Linked DNA regions of Homo sapiens: all the other regions are linked to region 1. Evidence: promoter capture Hi-C in 16 types of primary human blood cells and fetal thymus (Javierre and others, 2016). All regions are on one chromosome and are shown on one strand. Each heading gives the region's core, a stretch centred on a gene start or on the middle of the fragment in contact. The rest is flanking DNA. Distances are from core to core; before and after follow the strand shown.

Region 1 (2,676 bases), core at 88-2,587:
TCCAGAAACGCAGTTTTGCGTGAGTGCGTACTTGGAGCTGTTTGCCAGGCTGCAGACTTAACTCAGAGCACTATATGAAAGCACTGCATTTCCAGGCACTGCCAAGCCCGTTTGTTCATAAAATAAAGCAACAGTTGGGCAAATGTCAAAAGCCACACTACGAAGAACCTGACAGTAAACAGAAACCGATTAGCATAATCTACGTGGTCTGAGTGGTACTAAAACTTGACCTTTTTTTCTATTTTGATCTTTGCTACACAGCATAAAACAAAACAAAAATATTTAAAGTAAACTGCTAAATACAGCAGCAACTTCTGAAAGTCTAGGTCAGTAAAATTTAGAATGCTGCCTTGCTTGCAGGCAACAAGGGGTAGAGGACAATAAAGAACCTTTGTGTTCCGACTGGCAGTAACACAGCAGCGACTGCAGCAGCTCTATCCTTTAAAAAGGAGGCAGCTCCCTGTGTATTTATCACGACTTACATTAACTGGTCACGACAGTCTCCACCATTAGACTGTAAGCTCCAGGAAGGCAAGGACCATGACTCACCACAGTAGCCTCAGCGCCTAAAATAGGCGCTCAATAAATATTTGCTGCAGAATAAATGAATAGGCGGCGATGCAGAAGGGAAGAAGAGGCTCTGGGGACAACCCCAGAGTCCATGGGGACCTTCCTTGCCCGCTCCTCAAACTCTATACTAAGGTTCCCTCCAGCGTTCCCCAAGTCCTCCTGCGAGCTCCCAAACTCGGCTGAGTTTGCAGGGCGGCGACCAGCGCACCGACTTCCCCTCTGCCTGCCGCGACCCGCGGTGGGGTCCGCACGAAGCAGCCGCGGCACGCGGGGCGGGGCGACGCCAAAGTAACTCCGGAGCAACGCGCGGGGCCGCCGGTCCGACACACGCCCTTCCCTGAGCGGCCGCCGCCGGGCGCACGCGCCCCGCAGCCCGAACGCCGCCCCATCCCTAGAGAAATCAGGCGGCGGCTGTTTGGGCTTTTGTGTCTGTAGAAAAACGCGTAAATGCGTGAAAGACTCCGAGAAAAACCGGTTCACCCTCTTCCGCCACCCACTCAGGCACAGCCAGCAGTCCGTGTTCCCAAACACTGCTGATTCCCAGCAGGCCCGCCTCCGCCTCGGCCCGGTCGACTCCGGGCCCGGCCCTTCCCCCCGCGTCTGTCTCTCCCAGAGGCGGTAAGGGCCTGGCATCCGCAACCCCGCGCGGTTTCACCTTCTGAATCGCAGCGGGAGTGATCTCCCCCTTGCCTCGCTGCCTCGGGGCCGCGAAAGCCACAGACATGTTGCCGCCGTCACCACTATCGGCAAGTCCCGAGCGCTCCGGGTGAACGGCAAACTGGGGGAGAGACGCCGGCCTCTCGGGCTGAACCACCTCGGGAATGCGGGGAGGGGGGATGCTCCGGGGCCAAGCGGACGGGCGGCGGGGCAGGCCTGAAGGAGGCACTCTGGCCAGGGATGTCTCGCTTCTGCGCACTCTGGGGGACCCCTAGCCCTGGCCGAACTTTCTTGACCGTCCCTGCATCCCCCGAGCTCTCCTTATGGGCACCCCCTGGCCCTTTGCGCTAATGGTAGAGTCGCGCCCTAGTCCTCCCTCCGCTTCAGCGATTCAGGAAATGGTCCCGCCGCCGCGGGAGAAGGAGAGGCTGGGGCAGCCCCTGTCACAGGAAATGCGAGCGGCCCAAGCCGGCCCGCCCCCTTCGCGCCGTGGCAACTTGCCTCCCTCTCCGGCCCTCTGAAGCGTCTCCCCGACTGTGTTGCAGAGCGTGCCCTAGACCTAGTTCAGTTTTTCCAACTTCATCCTTACTTACGCCTCCTGGCAAGAGTGGCCGCCCCGAGTTGTCCCGGCAGCCCGGAGAGGGGAGGGAGGTCAAGACTCGGGAGTTCGTGCAAATCCGTGGAGCATCTGCCGAGATAGGGCAGAGGTGGAAGGACAAGGTGAACGCGGATTCGCTGGTTTAAATGGCTCGGCTACGCCCCAAATGCGCACCTCCGAGTCCACAGTCTCGCACGCACGCACAAAGTCGTGCCTAACAATTGGAAAGTAACCCTGACCCGAAACCGGGACACCAAGGTTGTGTCCAGTGCTCAGGGGCAATCGGCCAGCTTGGCTGGAGCGGACAGAGAAGAGCTCGCCTCTTGGGACAAACCCTTAGCAGGAAAGTGGGTCGATTTCGTCTGACTTGGCTTTTTGGAATTAAGTTGTGAAACAGGGCATCCTCACTCTCTGTTTTTTAAGAGAGTACTTACTTAGTGCCTTGTAAATTAGGCCCAAGCTGCCAGGCTTCAAGTCAGTGTAAGGGAAAAAGGCAAAGTTTTCAAATTATGGAAGGAACACGGACAAATGTGGGTTTTGTGTTGCCGTGGGGTTTTAAAGTATTCTGTAAATTTAGACTTCCATATAACACAAAGGGAAAGTTTATATAAAGTGTTACCCAACGTTAATGAATAATAAAAAATATTTCCATTTTTATATAAATTGGAAAAATAAAGAAAAAATACATTATTTTAAAAATTTAATCACTTGAGGCCAGGAGTTTGAGACCAGCCTGGGCAACAAAGTGAGACCTCTGTCTCTACAAGAATTTTAAAAATTGGCTGGGTATGGTGGTGTGCACCTGTAGTTCCAGCTACTAAGGAGGCTGAGGTGGAAGAATCACTTGAGCC
Region 2 (2,676 bases), core at 118-2,617, 120 kb after region 1:
GGGTTTCACCTTGTTAGACAGGCTGGTCTGGAACTCTTGACCTCAGGTGATCCACCCACCTCGGCCTCCCAAATTGCTGAGATTACAGGTGTGAGCCACTAAGCCCAGCCAACCTTTCATAGTTAACTCTCCTCCTCTTTCCAAAGTCTCCAGTTCCAATTCTACAAAGAGTAAATGTGCTTAGACCGGCTGATATTTTTTGTATCAGGGTCACTGTGGTCAGTCAAAGGATTGGCTGTCCTTGGGACTGCATCCTATTGTTTGTCCAGACAGCAGTGACAGCAGTATAGGGTCAAGTGGTCCCAGCTGGGGATGTCCTTTGTGTCACTAAAACGGTTCTTTTGCAAGGGACTGTGGATGGAGCAGGCATCATGACTTACTTGTGTAACACACACATGCTTCTCTCATTGAAAATACTTTTTTTTTTTTTGAGACAAGTTCTCACTATGTCACCCATGTTGGAATGCAGTGGCACGATCACACATCACTGCAACCTCAAACTCCTGGGCTCAAGCAATCCTCCCACTTCAGCCTCTCAAATAACTAGGACTACAGGCATGCACCACACACCCAGCTAATTTCGTTTATTTTCTGTAGAGACAAGTTTTCACTATGTTGCCCAGGCTCGTCTCAAGCTCCTGGACTCAGGTGATCCTCCTGCCTTGGCCTCCCAAAGTGCTGGGATTACAGGAGTGAGCCACCATGCCTGACCCTGAAAAGACTTCTTTTTCTCTTCCTTTTTATGAAGCAGACTGTGGAAATGTCTCATGACTCACCACAATAATCCTCCTCCAAGGTGCCTATTCTCAGGCTCAGTTAGAGGCCTGACCTCTTTGTTGTAACCTGTGTCACATTGTCTAGTAATCCTATCATATTTGTATCTCCTGTTAGATTGTGAGCATCTCACGCTCAGATCTGTAATCTTAGAGTCGGGGCCTCAGTGAATGATTACTGAAAAAGCAAGCTTTAACTTGATTAAGTGTTAGGCAGGGAGTGTTATTCACTCCCTGAAGAAAAAGAAGGGAGTGGGGATGGATTATTCTTTTTGACAGGAAAGGTGTGCAGCTCATTAAAAAGGTTGTCCTGGCCGGGCCCAGTGGTTCATGCCTGTAATCCCAACACTTTGGGAGGTTGAGGCGGGTGGATCACCTGAGGTCAGGCATTCGAGACCAGCCCAGCCAACATGAAGAAACCCTGTCTCTACTAAAAATACAAAAAACAGCTGGGCATGGTGGGGCGAGCCTGTAATCCCAGCTACTCAGGAGGCTGAGGCAAGAGAATCGCTTGAACCTGGGGATCGGAGGTTGCAGTTAGCTGAGAATGTGCCATTGCACTCCAGCCTGGGTGACAGGAGTGAAACTACTCTGTCTCAAAAAAAAAAAAAGGTTATCCTTATTAAGAACTGTCTTTTTGGCCAGGCGCAGTGGCTCACGCTTGTAATCTCAGCACTTGGGGAGGCCAAGGCAGGCAGATCACCTGAGGTCAGGAGTTGGAGACCAGCCTGGCCAACATGGCAAAACCCCATCTCTACTAAAATACAAAGATTATCTGGGCGAGGTGGCACACACCTGTAATCCCAGCTACCTGGGAGGCTGAGGTAGACAAATCACTTGAACCCAGGAGACGGAAGTTGCAGTGCACTGAGATCATGCCACTGCACTCCAGCCTGGGTAATAGAGTGAGACTCTGTCTCAAAAAACAAACAAAACAAACTGGCTTTGGTGGGAAAATGTATGCTATTTGGCAAAGGAGCAGCCTCAGCAGTTTCCCAAAGCTTATCTTCCTAAAACTTCTTGTGCAATGTCATTTGATCAAATGTTCCTGGTTGGCGAAATTTGTGAAACATTGTCTTAAAGAAAGTAAAGCAGGCTGGGTGTGGTAGCTCACGCCTCTAGTTCCAGCTACTCTAAAGGCTAAAGTGGGAAGGTGGCTTGAGCCCAAGAGTTCCAGGCTGCACTAAGTCACCCAGCCTGGTCCACAGAGTGAGACCTTGTCTCAAAAAACAAAACAAACAAAGTAAAGCAGTTTTCTTTACTGTAGAGGTTATCAAAATGTGGTCTGTCTACCCCCAGGTATCTGAGTCCATTTCATGAAGTACATGAGGGTCTTAATTATTTTCATACAATACTAAGATGTTTGCTTTTTTCACTATGTGGAAAAAACAGTATGTGGCATTACATTTCTACTGATGGTATAAAGGCAATAGTGGTTTATATTGCTGGAGCATTAGAACGTTAAGGCAATGACATGTGATGGTTAGTTTCATCATCATTATTATTATTATTATTATTATTATTATTATTATTATTATTATTATTTTGAGACAGAGTCTTGCTCTGACCCCCAGGTTGGAGTGGAGTGCAGTGGCGCGATCTCGGCTCGCTGCAAGCTCCGCCTTCTGGGTTCACGCCATTCTCTGGCCTCAGTCTCCTGAGTAGCTGGGACTACAGCACCTGCCACCGTGCCCGGCTACTTTTTTTTTGTATTTTTAGTAGAGACGGGGTTTCACCGTGGTCTTGATCTCCTGACCTCATGATCCGCCCACCTCGGCCTCCCAAAGTGCTGGAATTACAGGCGTGAGCCACTGTGCCTGGCCTATTATTATTATTTTGAGACAGAGTCTTGCTTTGTTGTCCAGGCTGCAGTGCAGTGGCGCATTCACGACTCATTGTAGCC
Region 3 (2,676 bases), core at 89-2,588, 92 kb after region 1:
GCAAGTTATTCAAATTGTGAATGCAAAGGAAAAGTACTTAAGAAAATTAAAAGTACTTAAAGAAATTTAAAGTGCTACTGCAAGGGAACACGTGAATGATAAGAAACTGAAACAGCCAGGCCAGGCGTGGTGGCACGCACCTGGCCAACATGGCAAAACCTGTCTCTACTAAAAATACAAAATTTAGCCACGTGTGGTGGCACGCACCTGTAATCCCAGCTACTCGGCAGGCTGAGGCAGGAGAATCGCTTGAACCTGAGAGGCGGAGGTTGCAGTGAGCTGAGATGGCACCACTGCACTCCAGCCTGGGCAACAGAGTGAGACGCCATCTGAAAAAAAAAAAAAAAACCAGTCTTGTTACTGATATGGAGGTTTTAGTGGCCTGGCTGGAAGATCAAACCAGCCACAACATTCCTCTAAGCCAAAGCCTAATCCAGAGCAAAGTCCTAACTTTCTTCAATTCTGTGAAGGCTGAGAGGGGTGAGGAAGCGGAAGAAGAAAAGGCTGGAGCTAACAGAGGTTGGTTCATGAGGTTTAAGGAAAGAAGCCACCTTCATAACATAAAGGTGCAAGGTGAAGCAGCAAGTACTGATGGAGAAGCTGCAGCAAGTTATCCAGAAGATCTAGCTAAGACATTTATCTTCAGTGAAGGTGGTTATACTAAACAACAGATTTTCAATGTAGATGAAACAGCTTTCTGCTGGAAGAAGATACCATCTAAAATTTTCATAGCTAGAGATAGGAGAAATCACCTCACTGCCTGGCTTCAAGGGACGGACTGTCTTGTTAGGGGATAATGCAGCTGGTAACTTTAAGTAGAAGCCAGTGCTCATTTACAATCAATGGATGACAGCACATCTATTTATAGCATAGTATACTGAATATTTTAAGCCCACTACTGAGACCTAACACTCAAAAAAAGAAGATTCCTTTCAAAATGTTACTGCTCATTCACAGTCCACCTAGTCACCCAGTAGCTCCGATGGACATGTACAAGGAAATTAATGTTTTCGTGCCTGCTAACACATCTTTCTGCAGCACATGCATCAAGGCGTAATTTTGACTTTCAAGTCTTATTATTCAAGAAATATGGCCAGGCATAGTGGCTCACACCTATAATCTCAACACTTTGGGAGGCCAAGGCAGAAGAATTGCTAGAGGCTAGAGGTTTGAGATCAGCCTGGGCAACATAGTTAGACTGTGTCTCTACCAACATTGGCTGGGCACGGTAGCTCATGCCTGTAATCCCAGCACTTTGGGAGGCCGGAGGCAGGTGGATCACTTGAGATCAGGAGTTCAAGACCAGCCTGGCCAACATGGTGAAACCCCGTCTCTACCACAAATACAAAAATTAGCTGGGTGTGGTGGGGGGAATCTGTAATCCCAGCTACTTAGGAGGCTGAGGCAGGAGAATTGCTTGAACCCAGGAGTTGGAGGTTGCAATGAGCCAAGATCATGCTATCGCACTCCAGACAGGGCAGCAGAACGAGACTCTGTCTCAAAAAAAACAAACAAAAAGGCCGGGCGTGGTGGCTCATGCTTGTAATCCCAGCACTTTGGGAGGCCAAGGTGGGTGGATTGCTTGAGGTCAGGAGTTTAAGACCAGCCTGATCAATATGGTGAAACCCTGTCTCTACTGAAAATACAAAAATTAGCTGGGCGTGGTGGTGGGCACCTGTAATCCCAGCTACTCAGGAGGCTAAGGCAGGAGAATCGCTTGAACCTGGGAGGCAGAGGTTGCCGTGAGCCAAGATCGCACCATTGCAGTCCAGCCTGGGTGACAGAGCAAGACTCCGTCTAAAAAAAAAAAAATTAACAAACAAACAAAAATATCAACATTAACAGGAGTTTAGAATAAGTTGATTCCAACCCTTATGAATGACTTTCAGGAGTTCAAGACTTTAGTGGAGGAAGTCACTGCAGATGTGGTACAAATAGCAAGAGAACTAAAATTAGAAGTGGAGCCTGAATATGCAACTGAATTGCTGCAATCTTGTGATAAAACAGATGATGAGTTGCTTCTTAAAGATGAGAAAAGAATGTGGTTTCTTGGATGAAATCTACTCCTGGTTATGATGCTGTAAATATTGTTGAAATAACAACAAAACATTTAGAGTGTTACATAAATAAAGCAGTGACAAGGTTTGAGAGGATTGACTCCAGTTCTGAAAAGTTCAATTGTGAGTAAAATGCTATCAAACAGCATCTCATGCTATAGAGAAATCTTTTGGGAAAGGAAGAGTCTATCAATGTGGCAAACCTCATTGTTGTCTTATTTTAAGAAATTCCCACAGCCACTTCAACCTTCAGCAACCACTACCCTGATGAGTCAGCTCCATCATCAAGACAAGACCCCACCAGCAAAAAGATTACTACTTGCTGGAGGCTTACATGATTGTTAGCATTTTTTAGCAATAAAGTGTTTTCAAATTAAGATATGTTGATTTTTTTAGACATAAGGCTATTGCACACTCAATAGACTACAGTATAGTGTAAACATAACTTTAATATGCACTGGGAAACCAAAACATTTATGTGACTCAATATTTGCCTTACTGCTGTGGTCCTGAACCAAATCCACAATTTTTCCAAGGTATGCCTGTATGTGTATTCATAAACAGAGAGAGAATATCAATATGTAGTCTGTTTCAGTCATTTATTCTGGCTTAAAGCAGC
Region 4 (2,676 bases), core at 50-2,549, 88 kb before region 1:
TGAACAAATAAGGAAATACAAATGGCTAACACATAGAAAATATTCAATTCAACTCATACTAATAACCAAAGAAATAAATATTAGAATAAACTACCATTTTTATCTGTGAGATTAACGAAGACTTACTTTTAAAAAATGCTAAGCCAGGCCCAATGGCTCACACCTGGAATCCCAATATTTTGGGGGGCAAAGTCCAGAGGATCACTTACGGCCAGGATCTCAAGATCAGCCTAGGCAACATAGGGAGACCCCCAACTCTACACACATTTTTAAAAATTAGCCAGGTGTGGTGGTGCACTCCTGTAGTCCTAGCTATTCCGGAGGCTGAGGCAGGAGGATCGTTTGCCCCCAGGAGTTGAAGGCTGCATGAACTATGATCATGCCACTGCACTGCAGCCTAGTGACAGAGCAAGGCCTGTCTCCAAAAAAATGTTACTAGTTAAAAATTAAAAAATAAAAATGCTAAAAATTGACAAAGGAGGATTAATATATACTCAGTCTATTCTAGGAGTATAAATTAGTATAATCTCATTGGAAAGAAATATGGCAGTATTTATCCAGAGTGTCAGAAAATGTTTATATACTTTGAGAAGATAATCCCATTTTAGGAATCTATCCTAAAGAAATAACCCCAAATAACAGTAATTTACTTATTTAGCACTTACCACATGCCAGGAACTACTATATCTAATGTATTAACATGCAATAACATTGAGAAATTTGAGTAATATATTAACTCATTTAATCCTTACAACCCTGAGGTAGTTAAGTATACTATTCTCTCTAGTTAGAGATACAGCAACTGCAGCACAGTTTCAATTGTTGCCCAAGGTTTCAAAACTAGTTAGTGATGAAACTAAAAAGGCAAGACTCAAACCCAGGCAGTCTGACTCCAGGTTCTATGTGCTTAATCACTCTGCTGCACTGCCTCTCAGGATAAACAGAAATACAAAGATGTTCGCCTCAGCAATACTGATGATAGGAATTTCCAGAAGAAAAGCCAAATATTCTATGATAGGGGAAATGACTAAGCAAAAGACAGAGTAGATAACATATTATACTTATTTTTTTAATATAGTTTTTAAATTATAGGTTATTATTTAGGTTATTATAGACTCTAAGAAACTTTATTAAGAAAATTAAAATGATTGTACTGAAAATGCAAATAATATGGTTTGGTTTTAAAAACACTTACATTGTTCTTCCTCTAGTCTAAAGCACTATCAATTATAAGAGTAAGACATATCATTATTTTATGTTATAAAGAAAGAGAACAAATCTCAATTTCAGAGATACTAAAATGTGAACTCAATGGATCTCAGATTTAGTTCCAACTAGGAGGTATTCTTTCTCTGAAGATAATTTTTGATCTGAGTTCCCAAATATGAAACTCAATGCAGTGTGGCTATTCTTTTAGGCCTGAATGTTTATACAAAGTCCCTTCTCCATTGTGGCAACCTTATTGATCCATTAGCCCAAATATGAGTCAACAGATCCTTCACATCAAGGAGCCCTTGCTATCTCTTTTGGAAAGAAGAGGAGAAATTATTACTAACAATTACACATGCCAGACCAGAAGCCCATCACTCCCACTGTAAGGAAACTTTATAGCAGAGGAACTTGAGAATTCTTCAAAGCCATAAAATATGAAAAAGAAAACAGGTTTAACAAGTGGCTTGAAAGAACACGGTTGAGTGAATACTATGCAGTAAGGAAAGCCATTTGGAATATCACAGATTATTTAGGGAGGATTATACAGAGGGATAGAGAAACACTGGGAAATAGAAGGAGCATTGTTAAGGTGGAACTGGCATGGAGCCAAGGCTATGAGAACATTGTGAAGCACAGAGGCAGAAGGAAGCTCATGATGGTAAGATTGTTACAGGTATCATATAGTTGTCTATACTGGTAAAAGAGCAAAATAGTGCATGCTTTCCTAGCAAGTCGGATTCTAATGGTTTAGCTCTGGGCACAGACTAGCAGAAAACAGACAGTAAAGAGAGAAAATGTTGTCATATATGTCATCGTTCCATCTGCATTCCCACAAAATATCTTCCACCAAGGAGACTTTTTTTTTTAATTGAGGGGCAATGGGACAGTTAGCTATGTTTATCATTTTAATTATTGCAATGCTATGATTCATTAATAAATCACTGGTATGACCAAGCATCTACTCCAGACCTACTCAAAACGAAACGTACCCTTCTAGTATACAGCTTAAGTATAGACATCTATACAGGTGCACAATCTCCTCTCCAGCCTCGTGGGGCCAGATGTGTGCATAGGCAGTATATTACATGGCACCTCCAGGGGACGCTGAATCAGATAAAGAGACTATAACCTCACCATGGGTCAGACCAGGTTTTATAGCCAAATGACCTCAGGGCTGGTCAGGATTTTGGAATTTTGGCTAAGGCACTGTGGACTCAGGTTAAAGCCCTAACTTTTACCTCTAATCCATCTATTTTACTACTTCATTTTCAATGTATGAATCCTAAATGTCTCTATATATCCTAATTAATAACATTTCTAATAATCAATATTTATGGAACTCCCATTACATAACTGGGCATTATTCTAGGCATCATTCTAGACATCAAGTGACTAGTAGTAGACAAAACAAAACCCCTGCCTTCGGGGAGCTTTCAATGACTCCCCTGGGACAATGAGAGAATT
Region 5 (2,676 bases), core at 90-2,589, 68 kb before region 1:
AAGAAATGGAGGCACTGAGAGTCTAAGTAACTTGGCCCATACTTGATCACAATGCTAGGACCAAACAAAACCACAATCATGCCTAAAAAGGTAGGCTGTGTATCTGCAACCATTAACAAATTCCAAGGTGGCATTAAGGATTAAAAGTACGGCTTTTGGAGCCAGAAACCAATTTCTAGTGCTAACGTCACCACTTAACAGCTTCTTATCCTTGGGCAAGTTGCTTAACCTCCCTGAGTTTCAATTTTATCATCTGACAAGGGTAATTATAATCTCTATTTTAAAAAGTTATTCAAGAAGAAAAACATGAAAATGCTCTGTGAACTACTCAAGTACTCATTAACAGTATGGGTGGCAGCATGGTACAGTGAACAGAGCATGGGCTTTCAGCACTCAGCAGTAGTCATGCAGCTTCACCACTCCTGAATTCTGTCATCTTGAGTAAATCACTTGAACACTCTAAGCCTCACCTTCTCTCTCTTTGCTCTTCAATTTTTAAAAAAAATTCCTCTGACTACAGTATAAAGAATTTTAATGGGAAAGAAGACAGTATGGAAGATCCTACTGCGATGAAGACAGGAGATGAACATGGTCTAAACTAAGATAAGGGTGTAGGTTAGAAAGAAATGAATGGGTTCAAAAGCTTTTCAAAAAGGAAGATCAATAACATTTGTCATTTATTAGACAAGGGAGGAAAAGCAGGGACACTTAAATACCAAACAGGCACTTGGCAATCTAGCTTGGTGATAGTACCCCTCTCTTTGATAAAGAACACAGAAAAGTTTTGGTAGAAAAAATTATAAATTTATTTTGTTTCTGCTGAATTAATACCTATGATACATCTAAGCAGAGCTGTCGAGTAGGCATCTAATTTCCAGAAGAGAGATTGAGACTATAAATAGAGATTTGGGAGTCAACAGCATGGTGAACTGAGACCTTGTGAATAAATGAGAATGCCTAGGGAGAGTATATTGAATGAGAAGAGTTCCTAAGGTAGAAATCTGAGCAATACCAAAATCTTTACATTTCTTTCCTTCATTCTATTTACCTAATCAGTTTAAAATCTTAACATTATTCCTTCACAACATTTTAGGGGTTTCCTCTTAACTCTGGTCTTGTGATCACGCATTCAAATCTAGAAAGTAGTGGCCTTATTTACTCAGTTGTTTATACTTTATTCACCAATATTTACTGATTATGTGCTGTGCTCTACTAGGTGACAGAGACTCAACAGTAATAAAAACAGACAAAGCGATGCTTTTAAAGAGGTTACATTCTTGGGGAAGAAGAATATGACAATAAACAGTAACAAAATAATCTGTCAAATGAAGAGAAATGTTATGTTGAAAAATTAATGCATGTTTCTATTCAAGATGGATTTATCTGGCAGCCTGAAACAATAAAAAAAAAAAAAACTACACAAAGCATATGATAATCATATTCAGGACACACAGGACAGAGCCAACAAAGGACAATGATCCCTGAGACATGGTAAACAAATGAGGCCAGCCCTCTGACTACCACAGCTAACTACCTTGAGAGTTTCCAGTCTGCAGTGCACGAAGGGGAACTGAGGCTGAGTCTGCCAGATGTTCTGACTTAAGGAGATAAGGCTTAGAGTCTGGAGAGAAAAAGGTAGCTAGAGTTAACAGGACAGAGTACCCTACAAGAAAGATCTGCCTAAAGAGACAACTGTGGAGATGTGCAGAGGAACCCTCCTCCTATTCAGCATAGTACAGATATGCAAATGTGTGAGGAAAATACCCAGGGCTGAGGCAAGAAACACCCAAAAGGATTAGGGGAAACAATACTTGTTTGTCACATAGGAACAGAATCAGTGCTTATTCCCACCAGTCAGAGTAAAAAGCCTTACAATTCAAAGGGCATTGGGCAAAACACCCAAAAGGCTCTTACCTTATCAGTGATGAGTATTTAGCCCAGGACTAAACACTGCTCTTTGTCCTGCCTAGAATATCTTAAAAGCAATTTCAGAAAGTTCAAACTGTTTGTAACTTATTAAACTGAATCCCAAAGCAAAGCTTAAGAATATCTCTAGGTATACATATATCTTCATCACCCAACATAAAATTCACAATGTCTGGAATCCAATCAAAGATTATCACGCACACAAAGGACAGAGAAAAAAAACTGATTAAAACTGACCCTAAAATGACATAGATTATTAGAGTTGGCAGAAGAGGATATTAAAAGAATTATATTTGTATTCCATATGTTCAAAACAATTAAGGACAGACACGGAAGATATTAAAAAGACCTAAACCAAACTTGTAGAGATGAAAATGACAAAGTCTGAGATAACACTCAACAAACTCCAAGCATAAGAAACATGAAGAAATCAACACCAATGCATGCTCTCATCAAATTGCTCAAAACAATTTGGGCAAGAGAGAAATTTCTTCAATCAAACAATTTGATAAAGGGAAAATCTTAAAAACAGAGAAAAAAGACATATTAACTACAAAAGAACAAAGATAAATGACAGCAAATGTCTCCTTGGAAACAATGTAAGGAAGAAAAGAGTGGAGCATCTTTAAAGTATGGAAAGAAAACAAAAACAAACTGTCCACCTAGAATTCTATACCCAGAGAAAATATCTTTCAAAAATAAAGGCAAAATAAACATTTTTTTCAGACATACAAAAGCTGATTATTACCA

What was found. Contacts are between HindIII fragments. The CHiCAGO score rates a contact against its expected background, and 5 or more counts as called.
Region 2: a fragment that was not itself captured here is called in contact with the fragment with the promoter of SS18 in region 1 in 7 of 17 cell types (activated CD4 T cells, naive CD4 T cells, non-activated CD4 T cells and 4 more); the score reaches 15.4 in activated CD4 T cells.
Region 3: a contact is called between a fragment that was not itself captured here and the fragment with the promoter of SS18 in region 1, in 8 of 17 cell types (non-activated CD4 T cells, activated CD4 T cells, naive CD8 T cells and 5 more). The highest score is 15.9, in non-activated CD4 T cells.
Region 4: a fragment that was not itself captured here is called in contact with the fragment with the promoter of SS18 in region 1 in 2 of 17 cell types (non-activated CD4 T cells and activated CD4 T cells); the score reaches 5.8 in non-activated CD4 T cells.
Region 5: a fragment that was not itself captured here is called in contact with the fragment with the promoter of SS18 in region 1 in 7 of 17 cell types (non-activated CD4 T cells, activated CD4 T cells, total CD8 T cells and 4 more); the score reaches 7.8 in non-activated CD4 T cells.

Annotation. Positions count from the first base shown.
Region 1 is chr18:26,089,276-26,091,951 of GRCh38, forward strand. SS18 (SS18 subunit of BAF chromatin remodeling complex) reads right to left here and starts at 1,338. Exons shown (of 11, transcript NM_001007559.3): 1 at 1,226-1,338. The coding sequence starts at 1,294. RefSeq lists an enhancer at 1,673-1,792. The HindIII fragment of the contact is 4,894 bases long and covers 1-2,676 here.
Region 2 is chr18:26,207,331-26,210,006 of GRCh38, forward strand. No RefSeq gene overlaps it. Among named protein-coding and RNA genes, the nearest start is that of TAF4B, 18 kb to the right of the region's middle. RefSeq lists a silencer at 175-351. The HindIII fragment of the contact is 810 bases long and covers 963-1,772 here.
Region 3 is chr18:26,181,592-26,184,267 of GRCh38, forward strand. The region is part of intron 6 of PSMA8 (proteasome 20S subunit alpha 8); the gene reads left to right. Among named protein-coding and RNA genes, the nearest start is that of TAF4B, 44 kb to the right of the region's middle. The HindIII fragment of the contact is 2,788 bases long and covers 1-2,676 here.
Region 4 is chr18:26,001,760-26,004,435 of GRCh38, forward strand. No RefSeq gene overlaps it. Among named protein-coding and RNA genes, the nearest start is that of SS18, 88 kb to the right of the region's middle. RefSeq lists an enhancer at 2,126-2,225. The HindIII fragment of the contact is 3,044 bases long and covers 1-2,676 here.
Region 5 is chr18:26,021,037-26,023,712 of GRCh38, forward strand. All of the region lies in intron 10 of SS18 (SS18 subunit of BAF chromatin remodeling complex), which reads right to left. Among named protein-coding and RNA genes, the nearest start is that of SS18, 68 kb to the right of the region's middle. The HindIII fragment of the contact is 1,396 bases long and covers 642-2,037 here.